Regions from separate parts of the Homo sapiens genome. Here region 2 is linked to region 1. The links are contacts of gene promoters, found by promoter capture Hi-C in blood cells and fetal thymus (Javierre and others, 2016). All regions are on one chromosome and are shown on one strand. The core of a region is centred on a gene start or on the middle of the fragment in contact, and the rest is flanking DNA. Distances in the headings are between cores, read along the strand shown. Region 1 holds the start of SKAP1 (src kinase associated phosphoprotein 1). Region 2 holds the start of HOXB8 (homeobox B8).

Region 1 (7,459 bases), core at 2,657-5,156:
TAGGGCAGACGTCAGCTCCGCCACATGTCATGACCCAGCATTCAGGGATCAATAACCAGCTCAGAATAAAGCCTCAGAGCCTGCCCTCTGCAGTTTCCTCTCCAGACCCATTTCAGCCAGGGCAGAGCGGTGCCAGCCAGCTCCTGCTTTGCTTGCAGTTGTGTTCCCACTGCATGCCATTCTGGGTGCCAGATGCTTTTGTTTCTTCCTGATTGGTCCCTCTGGACATCCCATAGATGCCTATTTAGCGAGTGCCCACCTGGCATGAGAACATGTAGACAGCATTCCCAAGAAGCTCAGAGGCCAATATGGGCCCTATTTTCTGTGTCTTCTGTCTGCTGACAGTGCGTGAAGGGTCCCGGTGGACAAGGCGGTGTGTTTTCTGCATGTTGTGCTGCTGGACTCCATTCCTGGCTGTTCTACATCTCTTTAGATCCCCTTATCTTATCTAATTACAAGGAATTCCAGATTAATTTCATGGCCTCTGCTCCAAAGGACCTCTTATCTGTGAGGGCCTTGTATTTTAACCTTGTCATTCTTTTGTTGTTTGTCTTTAAGGGGCAGGCAGCTAAGAAGAGGATGCTAAGATCTTGCTGGAATTGGGTCTGGGGGGGACGGGAAGAAAAGGGAGGCAGACAGACCTGAGATTTGTGTATTCTGTTCTGTCCTCCTGCCTGTGTGCAGAGACAGCTGGCTGCTTTCTTCCATGACAGCCACATAGTACCCAGCCACACAGAACAGGACCCAGGCAGGGACTCAGCTACTGCCAACCTCTCCAGATTGCTTTGATATTTCTGACAGAACAGTAAAGGACTCGTGACTATCACGTTTTGCCTTGCCTCTCTTCACCTCCTCTAAGACTCCTCCATGTGGTTTCCATGGCTACCCCCAATCAGATTTGGCTTCCTGCGAAATTGGATTTCAAAAAAGGACAAGGCTTCAAAGGAATTTGTCCATTTAACAGAATGTCATTAGGAGTGGGGCTGACTGCTGAAACAGGGTCCTCAGATGATTAAGGAAGGGCTGCGTTCATGTGTGGAGGCAGATTTCTGTCTGCAATGAGGAACCTTGATGCAACATGACAATACCGTATTGGAATCTGCCAGTCACTCACTACATACTACCCGACTGTGCACCTCCCTCTACCCCTGTCTCTCTAAAACCCAGAGATTCTTGTAAGGAAGGATGCATATAGAATACGTACACTGTGAGTTTTTGGTGTAAGTAAGCTATGACAGGCAGTGAAGCCTGCAAAGAAGTGCAATTACCTGGGTTTACTGCTCTTTATCAAACAATTCATTAGCTGGTAGCTTATATTAGTATGTGACACCATATCCTTGAAGAAGAGGGGGAGGTTATCAAATTTTCTTCTGTTGCCAAGAAGGAAAGCAAGGCAAAGTTTAGGTTGACATATGGGGAGACTTTGCTGCCCTTGCTGTATTTTTTGTGTAACAGTTTAGATTTACCAAAAAAAAATTGAGATGATAGCACAGACAGTTCCCATGTATCTTTCCTTGCTTTTTAGTATGCCTCATAAGTACTTCAAAATGATTCTAGAGCAGCTACAATTTTATAGGTGAAGTGGTGAAGTTGGTAAAAATGCCATGGGGGTACCTGGTACTTGATCCCAAGCCTGAAAGGGGTAGTCTGCCCATTGCTATACTTTCTTTCTTTCTTTCTTTCTTTTTTTTGAGATGGAGTCTTGCCCTGTCACCCAGGCTAGAGTGCAATGGCCTGATCTCGGCTCACTGCAACCTCCGCCCCCCGGGTTCATGTGATTCTCCTGCCTCAGCCACCCGAGTAGCTGGGATTACAGGCGTGCACCACCATGCCCAGCTAATTTTTGTATTATTAGTAGAGACGGGGTTTCACTATATTGGTCAGGCTGACCTCAAACTCCTGACCTCGTGATCCGCCTGCCTTGGCCTCCCAAAGTGCTGGGATTATAGGCGTGAGCCACTGTGCCCAGCCACCCATTACTATACTTTCTCAGGGCAGGAAGGAGGATGAGCAGGAGCCAGATACCCCAGAGAGGCTCATGCCAGCCTCTGTCCCCTCACCCCAATTTACTGCAGCTTGTAGGTGGGTCATGTGACACTGAAACCAATGCACCACTGCTTTTCAGATGGCAGGATGCACTGTACTCCTTAAAGGATCACACCCTCATCTTTGAGGCTGTATCTCTGGATGGGAAACAGTACAAGGAGGCAGGCACTTTTATCACACTCATCCTTCTCGATGGTTTCTTCTTACTGCTCTTGCCCCGTCTGCTAGATTGAGTCCATCATTATTCCCCTTATGGCTGTTGTAAAAACCATTTTACCCACTTCCCCCTGTGTCTTTTCCCACCACTCCTAATCTTTTCTACATATTCTGTAGGTTGAGTCTGAGAATAGAAATGCCATTTTTTACAAAGAAGGAAAAAGGCAGAGGTGGAGATGTGTGAGGCCACATACCACCCCGGAGCTCTGGTTAGGTCATTCCCAATCTCAAAAATTGTCAATGGCTCCCCAGTGCCCTCTCAATTAAGTTCAACATTCCTATTCTGACTTTCAAGTCCCTTCACAGTAGAGCTGCAGTTTATCTTGACAACCATAGTCTTTCTACAACATCCAGTAAAAGAGGGCTACTAACTATTCCTCAAGCTGGTGAGGGCTCTTCCATCTTTCTTTACTCTGGTCCTTCCACCTGGAAAGTCCTCTGCCCCTTCAAAGTCTGGTGTGTTTTTCAGAGCCCATCTCAAACACCACATGCACCTTTAAACACTCACATGCACACTGGCACTTCTTTTTATTTTCTTTCTTTTTTAAGAGACAGGGTCTTGCTCTGTTGCCCAGGCTGGGGTACACTGGGGTGATCATAGTTGGCTGTAACCTCAGATTCCTGGGCTCAAGTGATCCTCCTGCTTCAGCCTCCCAAAGTGCTGTGATTACAGGTGTGAGCCACAATGCCTGGCCTCTTCCCTCCTTTTCTGGTATTCAGCTCCCTTCTTTTATCAACCATAGCACTTTATACTTTTTTCATGGCAGTTGACCTATTGTACTTAAAAAACCTCTTTATTTTGAGAATTATAGATTCACAGAGAGTTTCAGAAATAATAGAGGAACTCTGTCTACCTTTACCCAGTTTCCCCCAAGGGTAACATCTGGCACTATTACAGTACCATGTCACAACCAGGACACTGACACCAACTGTCCCTTGAATGAGACCGTGTGATTTTGTCCTTCACTTTCCTCCCTTCCGCAGCTCCTGGAGGGAAAGGGCTCTGTTCTCCTCTCCCTCAGCTTTCTCCCTGTGTTACCCCTTCCTTTCCTCAGGGCCTTTCCATCCTGAGGGAGAACAGCACAGTTTGGTTTCCTGTGTCCCTTGCTGCCACGCTGCCGCGATTCTCCCAAATGTTGGTGTCCTTATATTGCTTATTGGGAATTAATCATTTCCTTTCAACATTGTGGCTTCCCAAAGAGCGAAGTTTTGCCCTCTTTTCTGGGGATGGAGATGTGAACTGGACCGGCAATTGAGGGGTGCTATGCTTGACGGGGATCTCTTCCTTGGATTCTGCCTCCCTGCACCCTACTTCAGGCACCCCGTGGTCTTTCAAATCTGCCACCGTGAGGTCAACTGTTCGGTGCTTAGGATGGAGTGTCCAAAGCCGTGGGTCCTTTGAGCCTTGTGAAGTCTTTTGTTTTGGTGGGTGCTGGAGGGGCGCACCTTTGGCCTCGCACGGTGCGGTGCTTCCGGCACCCCCAATCCTTCTACCGTGGGGCTCCGGCGTGAGCGCCACGTGCACCCACGCCCCGCGCCCCGTTCCGGTCCCCGCCTGCCGCCCGCGCCACTTCCTGACGCGCCCGGGGACCCACGGCCCCGCCCCGCGGCCGGGCTGGGCGGGCGGCGACCGCGGCTGAGGTACAGGTGCCTCGCGGTGCAGCCGGGTCGCCTTCCAGCCCGTCCGCCTCCCGACCAGGGCCCGCGCCCCGTCCCGCCTCTCTCCCGCCCAGCCAAATGCAGGCCGCCGCCCTCCCTGAGGAGATCCGTTGGCTCCTGGAAGGTAACGCCCTGGCGCAGGCCCCCTCCAGTGCTGAGCCGAAGGCCGAAAGGGGACACCAGGCCTCCCACGGCCAGGCTTTCTTTACGGCTTCGTCACTCACCTCCTTCTAGAACCTTAAGGCTTCTAGAGCCCTCAACTCCCTAGAGCCAGCTTTCCATCCTCTCACCTCAGGGCCCCTTTCACTCCCTGGAGTCCCACATCTTCTTTTGCCTTGAGGCACCTCCACGCCTCCACTTCACCTCCCCGGCTTCTAAAGTCCTCAGGCCAGGTTCTTGGTCCCCCATGCCACCTTGCCTGGTCTCCGACCTGTCCCTTTCTCCAAAGGACTGCCCTACATCTGTAGGGTTTCCCGTCCCCCTCCTTCCCCAGCCACGACTTCCTCACCTCTCACAGAAGACCCCAAACCTTCCTGCTTAGAGGTCCCCGAGGCTCTCCAGGGGGCTGCGAGGGGCTCATGGGATCCCCATGGGCCAAGGCCAGGTGGTTGACGTGAGTTTTTGTCAGTGCGAAAACCCCAGCCCTCCCTTTATCACCCTGCAGACGTCTAGGGGTCTCACCCACCCCAAGGCAGGCTCATTCTCAGTATGGGATTTCCTCCTTTTCTAGAAGTGCCCCCATTGTGGTGTGTTCACCTTCCAACTCCCATTGTGGTGTGTTCACCTTCCAACTACAGTGTCTAAGCGGTGGTTTAAAGAGTTCCGGCCATCCCCGTCAACACTCAACACACACTGCCAACACTCCAAAGAGATGTCACAAAGAGACGTTGCTAACGGGCAGTTTCATCTGCTGGGTTTCGTGGTGGAAGTCACTTTTACTTGCTTTCCTGTAACTAACCTTCCAGGGAGGACAGAGGCCTGGAATCTGCAGTCGCATAAGGCTCCCAGGAGGAAACTATTCAGAATTAAGCCTTTTGGCATCTAAGTTGACATAGTTGACACATATTTAACAGACGGCCTGCTTTGGGCAGGTCATATTTTTGGCAAGCAGTATTTTTTTTCAGTTTCTCTCAATTTAATTGGTTTTATATCTCCATTACCTTGTTATCTCGGTATAAATGCCTCCTAATCAAATATTTGGCAAGTCCTTTTGGTCTCTGTCTGTAGCACTATTTCCATTCTGGATTGCTTCTATGTAAAAGCTGTCAGCTAGATATTTCTTTTGAGGTGAGGTTTCCAAAATCCGTTTTACTTACGATCAGAATAAATCTAAATTTTGGGGGTAGAAAACTATTTGCAGGGTAAAAGAGAATTATCTGGGTGTCTAAGAAGAAACAATCCAGCCTTTCCCTCTGTTGTTGGTTTAATATTAGGCTTGTGAAGGAAGGCTGTAATTGTCTTTGGTTTCTAGGAAAGAAGGGACTGTGGCAAAAAGTTTAACTCTGCCCTTGCATTGAAATATATAAACTGATTCTTTTTATTGGTATCTGTCATTTGATGAGAGGAAACCTATTTTATAAGCTTATTAAACTATACTTCAGTTTTGTGTCTAGGCTTGGTAGAAAATTCCTTTTTATTTTCAGAGGCTTGCAATGAAATCCATTCCTTCAGCATTTTTGATGTGCAGTTCTTCATTGTTCAAAACTGACACTTTGGTAAACAACTCATTTCTGCACCTGCCACCTTCCTTTAGCTTAGATTATTTTCTTGTTAGCTGACTGTTTTTAATTGAAGTCTTCAGATCTCCTTCTAAAGCAGAACCTTTGTTTGCTGACAAGTAGAGCGGGGTATGAATGGAGATTAATTGCATGTCGCATACTTCTGTATCAAGCTTGCTGTATCTTAACAATCTCTGTTGGTGCTCAGGTCTTTAAAATATATGGAGGAGTCTGAAACCAAATTATAAGGAGCTTCGTTGGTTAATGTATTTCTTTAAGGCTTTTTTTTTTAAGTTTGCAATTAGAACTTGAATCTGAAGTAGAGAAAAAAATGTAAAGTGTGATTCATCCAGTAATTCTATTGAAAAATGTTTGAAGATATGTTTTTTAAAGGTTCCTGTAATAATAATAGCAATATATTGGTTACAAGTTTTATTTCTTTTGGAACACAGTCGCTGGTGTAGACCAGGAGGATTATTCATTGTGTTACAAATAATCTGTCCATATTAGAAACCCAAAATGGCCATCAATTTGTTGTTTGTTGCTATTTGTCTCCCCCACCACACACTTTTTAAGGTTAACTGTTGACAATTAGAAAAAATGGAGGTCCTGATCTCTATATAGTCACTCTGTGGGAGGGAGTCACAGGATGTGAGGGCTGCAACTCTAGTGCTGCCACATGGCTGTGGGGGTGGGGTTTCCACAATGAATTACTACTTTCATAAACCAAGGCATAAGCATTTGCACAGTGATTTAACACTGGACATCACAGCCATAACTTAAGCATTTATTTATTTATAACTACACAAGCATAAATGACAGGGGCATTTTTTGACATAATGTGTGTGCTTTTAAGAATAAAATATGTAAAGCATTGTGAAAGGTAGATAACAAAATTTTGCATAATGAAGAGAACAGAAATTCCCAAGGCCTAAAATTAATTTTGTTTAAATATAAAATTTGAGACACTTGGAAATGTTTCACTCGACCTAGAAACCTCACTTCTAAAAATCTGTCACTGAAGTGAAAGGTCATGAAGTAGTATATGCACGAAGATCTATGCTAAATGTTAATAAGTTGGGAGACTCAGGGTGATGGTTGAATGAATTATGGGACATTTGTCTCATGGAATACTTCACAGCCACTAAAAGAGTATTCTGTGGATCTATATATAGGCTTGGAAAGTGTCCATGGCATATTTTTAAGACTAAAAGGCAAAATGCATGATAGTACATGTAATATCCCATTTTTGCTTGAAAACCAAAAGACAAAACAAGAAAAGCCACATATGTTATAAATATTTGTGTAAGCCTAGGAATAAGTAAAAAAGAATATATACCAGACTGTTAACATTGGCTTCCTTGAGAGAAGACTGAGAGTTTGGAGGAGGGGAGGTTATTAATTTTTATTTCATACATCTTTGTGTTGTTTGAATTGTGACAATGACCATGCATTACTTCTGTAAACAGGAAAAAATAAACAGTAAGGGTATTTAAAAGAAAAAGGAACAAAAGACAAATAGAAACTCAGAGAGGTCAGAGTGCTAACGGACCATTTACTATGCTTGTGATCATGTTTTTCTCTTTTTAGCCCTGAGGGGTATGGAAGGTGGAGAAATTAAAAAAAAAAAACACGCTATCTTGGATTTTTGGCAAATATCAAAACAGTGTGAGGTTTCTAGAGTAACTCAGGAAATAGCTTCTTTAGATAGACTCTGTCAAGCTCTCATATAGAAATAGTAACTAGTCCCCTATCAACAAATAAATACCTCATAGATAAGTAAAATGGAGGGTGCTTTCTGCTTTATTGAAAGAGGAGGA
Region 2 (7,459 bases), core at 2,537-5,036, 190 kb before region 1:
TGTCTTATTCTGTGTTGGCTCTCTGGGCCTGACCATAGGTAGAGATCCCAGTTGTCGGGAGAAAGGCTTGGAAAAAAAAAGATTGCTGAGTCCAGGAGGTTTCTCCTTACACCCTGCAGGGCAAGGTCCCCTGCAGAGCTCTCTAGAGGTGGAGCTGAGAGCCAGTCCCAGACCCCAGGTCCCAAGACTACTGGTTAAACTGATCAAGAGCCTTCCAACAGGAGAACTGGAAAACGAGCGGGGAGGGAAGGAAATGTGGGTTGTTTGGAGAGGGCACAGGGTCTGGGGAGCAATGAGGTCCTGAAACCTCCTCATTGACTAGAGAATAGGAGGGAAGGTAGGTCTTCCTGCACCTCCTGGGGGTAGCTCTCCTCCCTCAGCCACTGAGAATGTCACCTTAGTTTGGCCGCTTTAAAATATGATGCAAGGGAGGAACACAGTAATTTCCCTCTGTTCTTCCCTGCAGTAGGGTGCCTAGGTCTAGACAGAGGCCTCCAGAGGGCTGGAATCTCTTTCCTTCCATTCAAAGGGAGCCAACGCCTTAGGGTTCTCGGCCCCCACCTGGGGTTGGAGGCTCCAGTTTGAGCCACAGGGTAGCAGCCTTGGTCTGAGGTGGGCTGGGTTGGTAGGGGCTGAGCCCTGGGTAAGCACCTCTGCAAAGGGTGGAGAGGTCATTGAGTGTGAAGCAGAAATGTCTCAGTAGAAAAATTCACCTCCCAAAAGGACCCCAGAATTAAACTCAGTTTCAAGAGGCACATTTTTGTCCCTCTCAGACTGAGGGATTTCGCCAGAGCCTCTTATGAAGATCGCAGTTCTCGGCAGCCTGCGCTTCTCATCCAGGCCTTGGGATTCCGCTTCGGCGGGCCGGCGCTCCCGAGCCCGCCTACCTCAGGAGCCTCTCCCCAACCCAAGCCGGCAACACTGCGGCCCGCGGAGACCCTGCGAGTTGGGGTAGAGTTGGGAACGAAGCATGGCCCGAATGAAGGGAGACTGCAAGTGAAAAGGCCAGGCCTACCCTCCTCCAACGAAAGGACGAACTGATCCAAGAGACGGCGGGAGGCAGGAGAAAGCGGAGCTCCGCATCAGGCAGGCCCGGACAGGCACCCTCCAAAGAGGGTTTCATTAGGGATGCAAAATGAATCTGGCTTTACAGCTGGTGTAGACCAGGCTCCTGCCCCATCCTGGGCTACCCAGGCCCAGCCGGTGCTGACAGCAAAGACAGAAGGTCGGTTTCTGCCTAAAGCAAACGCTCAGCGAGGCTGGAACAGAGGGGAGTGCTGCGTGGTAGGGGCGAGGGCGCTTGGAGGGGCCTCTGCCTGCAGCGTCTGGGTCCCCAGCCCAGGGCTGCTTCTTTAAAGACAAACAAAGGCGAAGATGCGGAGGCTCGGAAGCCGGAGATGGGGAAATCAGTTGTCATAAAAGAGAGATTCAGAGAGGGACACCGCCAGAGTGCGAGGCAGAGAGAAGCCGGGAGAGGAATTCAATGCCGTGTGCGCAGCAATAAAATAATATGACCGCTATAAAAGTTTATAGCGTATAAATTTCTGAAGGTTAAGAAACTAAACAGCAGCAAAGCAAACAGCGAGGGGAAACTTTCCGGAGCTGAGAGAGCCGCAGCTGGGCCGGGGCTCCCGGCCTGGCGGGGGAATGGGTGGGCCCCGCTCCGGCAGCCTTCACCCTCACCCGCACAGAACACGGGGCTCCGGGCTTCCGGGGCGGGGGGTGGCAGGGGGCAGAGAGGGAGAAGAGAGAAGCCGGGAAAGAACACTTTGTTGTCGCAAATGCTTCAGAAATTGCAACTGGGGCTCTTGTCTTTGTTCTTCACACCCCCTCCAGAATCAGGCGTCGGAAACGAGGAGCCTCCTGCGCGCGCGCGCACACACACACACACACACACACACACACACACACACACACACACACTCAGGTCCGGCGGGGCCAGACGTCTGGGCGCGGGCAGCCTCTTGATTCTTTTACAGTCTCATCCTATCCTCTCAGGCCTCCTCTCCCCCGACAAAAAGCCCAACTGTTTCTCCTCAGAATTTGAAACAATCGCGTGGAGTTTGAAAACTGCTCGGTCCCCCTTTTTACAGGCCATAAAGGGCGCACTGCTTTGCGGTCTCCGCTAGAAATTAGGGGCAGGGGTGGGAGGTGTACGTAGAAAGAAAAAAGCTTAGGGCTTCTTTTTTTTCCTCCCCTCTGTTGTGTTTTTTTTCTATTTTTTAGCTTATCTACACAATTTCATGAACCGTTTCCTGATTCCGATGCCCACTCCCTATCCCTCCCCTTTTACTGCTAGTTATGAAAGTTTCTCCTGCTGGCCACCTCTGCGGCTGCTCTCCCAGAAAACTGGTGGAGCCGGTGGCTGCGGCGCCTTTTCGCAGAGCAGCCGCTAGATGGCACCCTTGCTCCATGTGAAACTCCCTGGAGCGGCAGCTGCGGATGTCTGCTCCCGGCACCGCGCCTTGGTCGGCCCTGAATCCAGGAACTGAGTGCTACCAAAAGTCATGAATAATTTGTACCTAATAAAAAAAATAGGGCTCGTTATGGCCTTACCCCCATTTTATAGATTTCAGTTATAGTAGTGTTCCCCCATCTCCTCAAATGGTCAATTTTCTGAATTTTCCCCAAGAGGAGGGCTCAGTGATTCTCACCCAGTTGCTGTGTTCGGTGGGGCAACAAATGCGTGAAAACGGGGAATAATAGTAATAATAGGAATAATGGGTCCAAATCCAAAAGGAGAATTGATTCGAAACAACGAGATTTTCCGTGAAAGGAGGCGAAAGGAATGTCCCTGGATGCGGGTCAGCAGGTCAGGTGAGAGGGGCTAGCCGGCAAAAGAAGGTAGGATGGAGAGGAAGCTGCCCATCGGCTGGAGAGAAAATCACGTAAGCCAGCCCGAGACCCCCCAGTTTGTGTGTGTGGGGGAATGGAGCCATAGCTTTTGTGGGGATTCGGAGATGCCCAAAGCCGGCAGGGCGGCTTCGCACGGGCGCAAGCTCTGGAGCCTTTGTATGAGTCCAGGGCTGGGCTGGGCTCGCGCAGGGCGACCTAGGCACGGGGCAGGGGCTCCCCAGGGCAGCAGGGTGCGGGAAGGCTCGGATGTGGTCTCTGGATGCTTTGCGCGCTCCCAAAGAATGCGCGTTTTCCCATGGGCGCGAAGGCGGGCGCGGCGTCAGGACGCAGGAGCTCTGTTCTCCCTGGGTTCCTGGGCTTCCAGGTGAGAGGTGCGGCTTCAGTGCGCCTTGGCCCTGGCCGCAGGCAAACCTGGGGGCGCCGGTCCTTTCCTCATTGAGCAGCTGGAGGTCTGGACTCCGGGCACTTTCGTTCTGAGACCCGCACCCTGGTTGTTCACAGCCCCTTGCATTCCAAATCTCCTGTGTCCTCCCGGCCCCGCCGGATCCCTGCCTTCCATCCGACAAACCTGCGCCAGCAATAGATACTCCCACCCCCTCAAAATCACCCCAGCTGCAGCCTCTCCTCTCCCCCACCAGGACTTAGTGCAAGGAGGTAAGCGGAGTTTCTCCTCAACTTGAGTTTCTCTAATAAATCTGCGCTCCGCTGGGTGTTTATAAATTGTCTCCTCGCTCTTTCGTTTTTTTTTTTTTTTTTTCCTATAACAGAAACATTTTCCTTCCATCAGGAATTTCTGGCACGGTGTAGAGATGATTTAGAACAAGCCATTGAATTTGTACCTCGCCGGTGAGTTTTCAAATAATGACCATAAAATCCTCTGCACTTGATAAAAATGTTTGCTTCGGCAACAATTTAACTCGGCCCTCCGTTGCCTCACGGTCCCCTCAGCCACGCGCTGAAAATTCAAAGCCCTGGTTCTCTCCATTCCTCCTCTTTTCCTTTATCTCTCTCCCGCTTCTAGCCCCTCTCTCATTCTCTAGGTTCACTTTTGAAGAACCAAATGACCTCACTGGTAAGGTTCCCTTTGGAAAAGTGATAGTTTCATTTTTACAAATGTTGGGGTGTATGGGGTCCCCAAAAGGTGCCCGTCAAAAAAACAAACCACTGTTTCCTGAATAAACAATGGATTGAATATATTTGTAAAGCCTCCACTTTTGTTGCTCAAAATTTTCTTTCTGTCTCTCATTCCTCTCCCTTGCCAATCTACTGCTACAGGAGGCTACTGGTTCTGACCCTCAGACTGGGGCCTTCTAAAGCCTGGCCACCACCATCGTGAAGCCGGGTAGGCAGGGAACGCAGTGGCCACAGAGTGTGGCACCCAGTCAGCTTGTTCCAGCTTTCCGTGTTCAGACCTCTGGTTCCCAGGTCTGCAGGGAGAGCCAGGTTTAACTACAGGCTCCCCAAGGCGAAAGGAGAGAAAATGGGAGACTCAGCAACCTTGCTTTATCTGAATTCCACACCCAAGTCAGTTTAGGTGGTGACAGTGGCTCAAAAGGTCTTGGGGACACTGAGGACTAATAGATGCCCTCCCAACACATACTCTGCAGGCACTGCCTAGGGTGGCTGAGAGCATAGGACAGCGGACACGAAGGCCAGGTGCCAGGGCCTGATACCCAACCTTCTTTCCTTTTGATGCAGTGATGGGCTCAGTGGTCCCCTCTCACCCTTAGGCACTGCAGAAGGTGTGGGGGTCGGCCTGGGAAGGTTGGGAGCTATTAATAATTGGGCTTGGCTACTGGGTCCCAAGGCCTGGGTGCAAGTGTCGGGTAGCCCATTGGGGCTTCATCCCTCTGATGGCATCAGGCCCTCTCCCTTCATGCAAAGTCTGCCCTCAAAAGTGCTGATGGGCTGAAGGGCCTTCAGGAGACCCCCTTTTCAGCAAGCAGAGAGTGCACAAACCTGCAGAATCGGCAGTGGCAGCTCGAACTTTGCTCTGTGCTTCAACCACTGCTCATTAACCAGAAAGTTTCTTCTTCCCTCCCGTTCCCTCCTCAAGATCTCCCAGATCCCTGTTTCACAGAAAATTTTTGCTTATTTGTTTAATGAGAGGAAGTTTTGTGACTGGCCAGGGCAGGGCAGAGAGGGCAGGGCAGAGAAGGGACCTTTTGGGGGCTCCAGAGAAGGGGTGGGGGCAGGTGCTTGCCAGGACGGAAGGAGGTGAAAATCTCAGAAAAGTCACCGTTTGTGCCAAAAAAAAATCCCCATAATCATTCTCATTTCGGCTTCGTCACCCCCACCGTGCTGCAATCGGGCGGCGGGGGCGATCGAAGCTGCAGTTTTATAGCTGTAGAGGAAAGAACTCGTAAAATGCTAACAGCTTTTATGCGCTGCGGCATAAACAACAACAGACTCCGGCTTTATTGCGTTTTATAGTTTCTTAAAGAGTTTACAGCCGTTTTTTGGGGGGCCGGTTATCCAGCCAATTCCCTCCACACGATAGTTAAACCTTTATCAATAATAAGGAAATTGATCATTAAAGCTTTAAATATGACTACCTCGTTTGTTTGAAAATACGTTTAGGAGAGGAAGCTGTATGATTTGATAACTTGTATTAAAATACCAATTACATTTATAGGACCTTTTAAAACTCGGCGCAATTAAACCGTGTTCTTTTACATTTTTCCGAAGCGACCCTGACATTTAGAAAGACTCCAATTGCCTCGTTAAAATCGCGAAATTAACAGCGTGCCTACGCCTGGCGCGTTGTGTATGTGTGTGTGCGTGTTTTTTTCCGTGACTCCCCCACATCAGTCTTTGGGGGTGGTCTGCGAAGGTATTTGATTTGTTGTGAGGCGAGAGATATCTCATTAATGTAGGTAGTTAAACAGATTTAATCCGTATTCATTCTCTCTCACCCCCTCTCCCTCTCCCCCTCTCTCTCCCCCTCTCCCCCTCTCTCTCCCTGGGTGTTTTTTTCTTCCCCTCCTTTTTTTTTTTCCGCTCTCTCCTCACTCCCTGGCGCTCTCTCGCTCTAGCTCTCTCTCTCGCTCGCTCTCTCTCGCTCTCACCCTCGCTCTGCGTTCTGTCCGGGAGGAGTACGAAGAAGCCAATAGGATGCGGGGTCTCTAATGGATGCAAATGATCATGAAAAGACAGTGCAAAATATGAAACAACTCATTTGCAGGGAAGTAAATCACCGAAAACTGTTTATGAACTGGCATCCCTTCTTCGAAATGTAAAGCGAGGACCTCTTTAAGTGGTGGTATATTTTTGTTTGGGGGGTGGGGGGTGGGGGGAGGGCGAGCGAGCCGCGGCTGCCATGCAAGCTTAGACTTTTGGAGGCTTCTCTGTCCTTTTCTATTCCTGGAAACCACAAAAAGTGTGTCGGCTTCGAGATCTTCTTCGCCTTTTCTTTCTTTTCTTTTTTTCCCTCCTCTCTTTCCCTCTCCTTTCCTGGCGAGGGTGACTAGGAGCCGGCGAATCCGCGTTTTTTTCTCTCTCTCCCTCCCTTTCCCCCTCCCCACCCCCTCCCCAACAGCCCCCAACTATAGCCTCCGCCGCCGCCGCCGCCTCAAAATTCAATAAAATGAGCTCTTATTTCGTCAACTCACTGTTCTCCAAATACAAAACCGGGGAGTCCCTGCGCCCCAATTATTATGACTGCGGCTTCGCCCAGGACCTGGGCGGCCGACCCACCGTGGTGTACGGTCCCAGCAGCGGCGGCAGCTTCCAGCACCCGTCGCAAATCCAGGAGTTCTACCACGGGCCGTCGTCGCTGTCCACGGCTCCCTACCAGCAGAACCCGTGCGCCGTGGCGTGCCACGGGGACCCCGGCAATTTCTACGGCTACGACCCGCTGCAACGCCAGAGCCTATTCGGTGCGCAGGATCCAGACCTGGTGCAGTACGCAGACTGCAAGCTTGCCGCCGCCAGCGGCCTGGGCGAGGAGGCCGAGGGCTCCGAGCAGAGCCCGTCGCCCACACAGCTCTTCCCCTGGATGCGCCCGCAAGGTGAGCTCGCCTCGGGGCCGACAAGGGCAGGAGGGGGCCGGAAGGGCCCAAGGCCTGGCAGGCCGGGGCGCATTTCCTCCAGCTTCTGGAAGACTTGCCGGCTCCGTTCCGATCGCCTGCCGCTTTTCCCCTTTCTTTCTTATCTTTCTTTCTTCTTTCTTTTTTCTTTCCCTTGAAGGGGGTCGCTTAGAAACATTTCCTGAATCTATAAACCCCTCATCCTGCCTTACTTTTCTTCTTCTTCTCCTCCTTTTTTTCCCCTTTTACTGTTTTATGGGGGGTAGTGAAGAGAGGGTGGTGGGAGTGGGGGCGCTCAACTTTTGCACTTCTCAATTGCTTTATAGTTTAATTACCCTGAAGAAACTTTTCTTCTGGGGCAGAGGCTCTGGGGGCTTTTCAAGGTGGGTCCATTCGTCCCCACCCGGCTTTTTTATTCTTATTTTCCCCCCTCCTTCACATCCTTCCTCCTAAAGTTTATGGCACTTCTAATAGATCTGAACCACCTCCTACACAACTCTGGTGCTGGTTACCGGGGGAGGGGGCTCCCCTTTCTGGCTCCCTTAGATTCACTTGTGTCTAATCCCCCTCGCCCC

What was found. Contacts are between HindIII fragments. The CHiCAGO score rates a contact against its expected background, and 5 or more counts as called.
Region 2: a fragment that was not itself captured here is called in contact with the fragment with the promoter of SKAP1 in region 1 in 2 of 17 cell types (activated CD4 T cells and naive CD4 T cells); the score reaches 5.9 in activated CD4 T cells.

Annotation. Positions count from the first base shown.
Region 1 is chr17:48,426,661-48,434,119 of GRCh38, reverse strand. It overlaps SKAP1 (src kinase associated phosphoprotein 1), which reads left to right and starts at 3,906. Exons shown (of 13, transcript NM_003726.4): 1 at 3,906-4,045. The coding sequence starts at 4,000. RefSeq lists a silencer at 3,733-3,992. The HindIII fragment of the contact is 9,425 bases long and covers 1-5,504 here.
Region 2 is chr17:48,613,688-48,621,146 of GRCh38, reverse strand. HOXB8 (homeobox B8) reads left to right here and starts at 5,855. Exons shown (of 2, transcript NM_024016.4): 1 at 5,855-6,866. The coding sequence starts at 6,443. RefSeq lists an enhancer at 3,114-3,637. The HindIII fragment of the contact is 3,223 bases long and covers 2,175-5,397 here.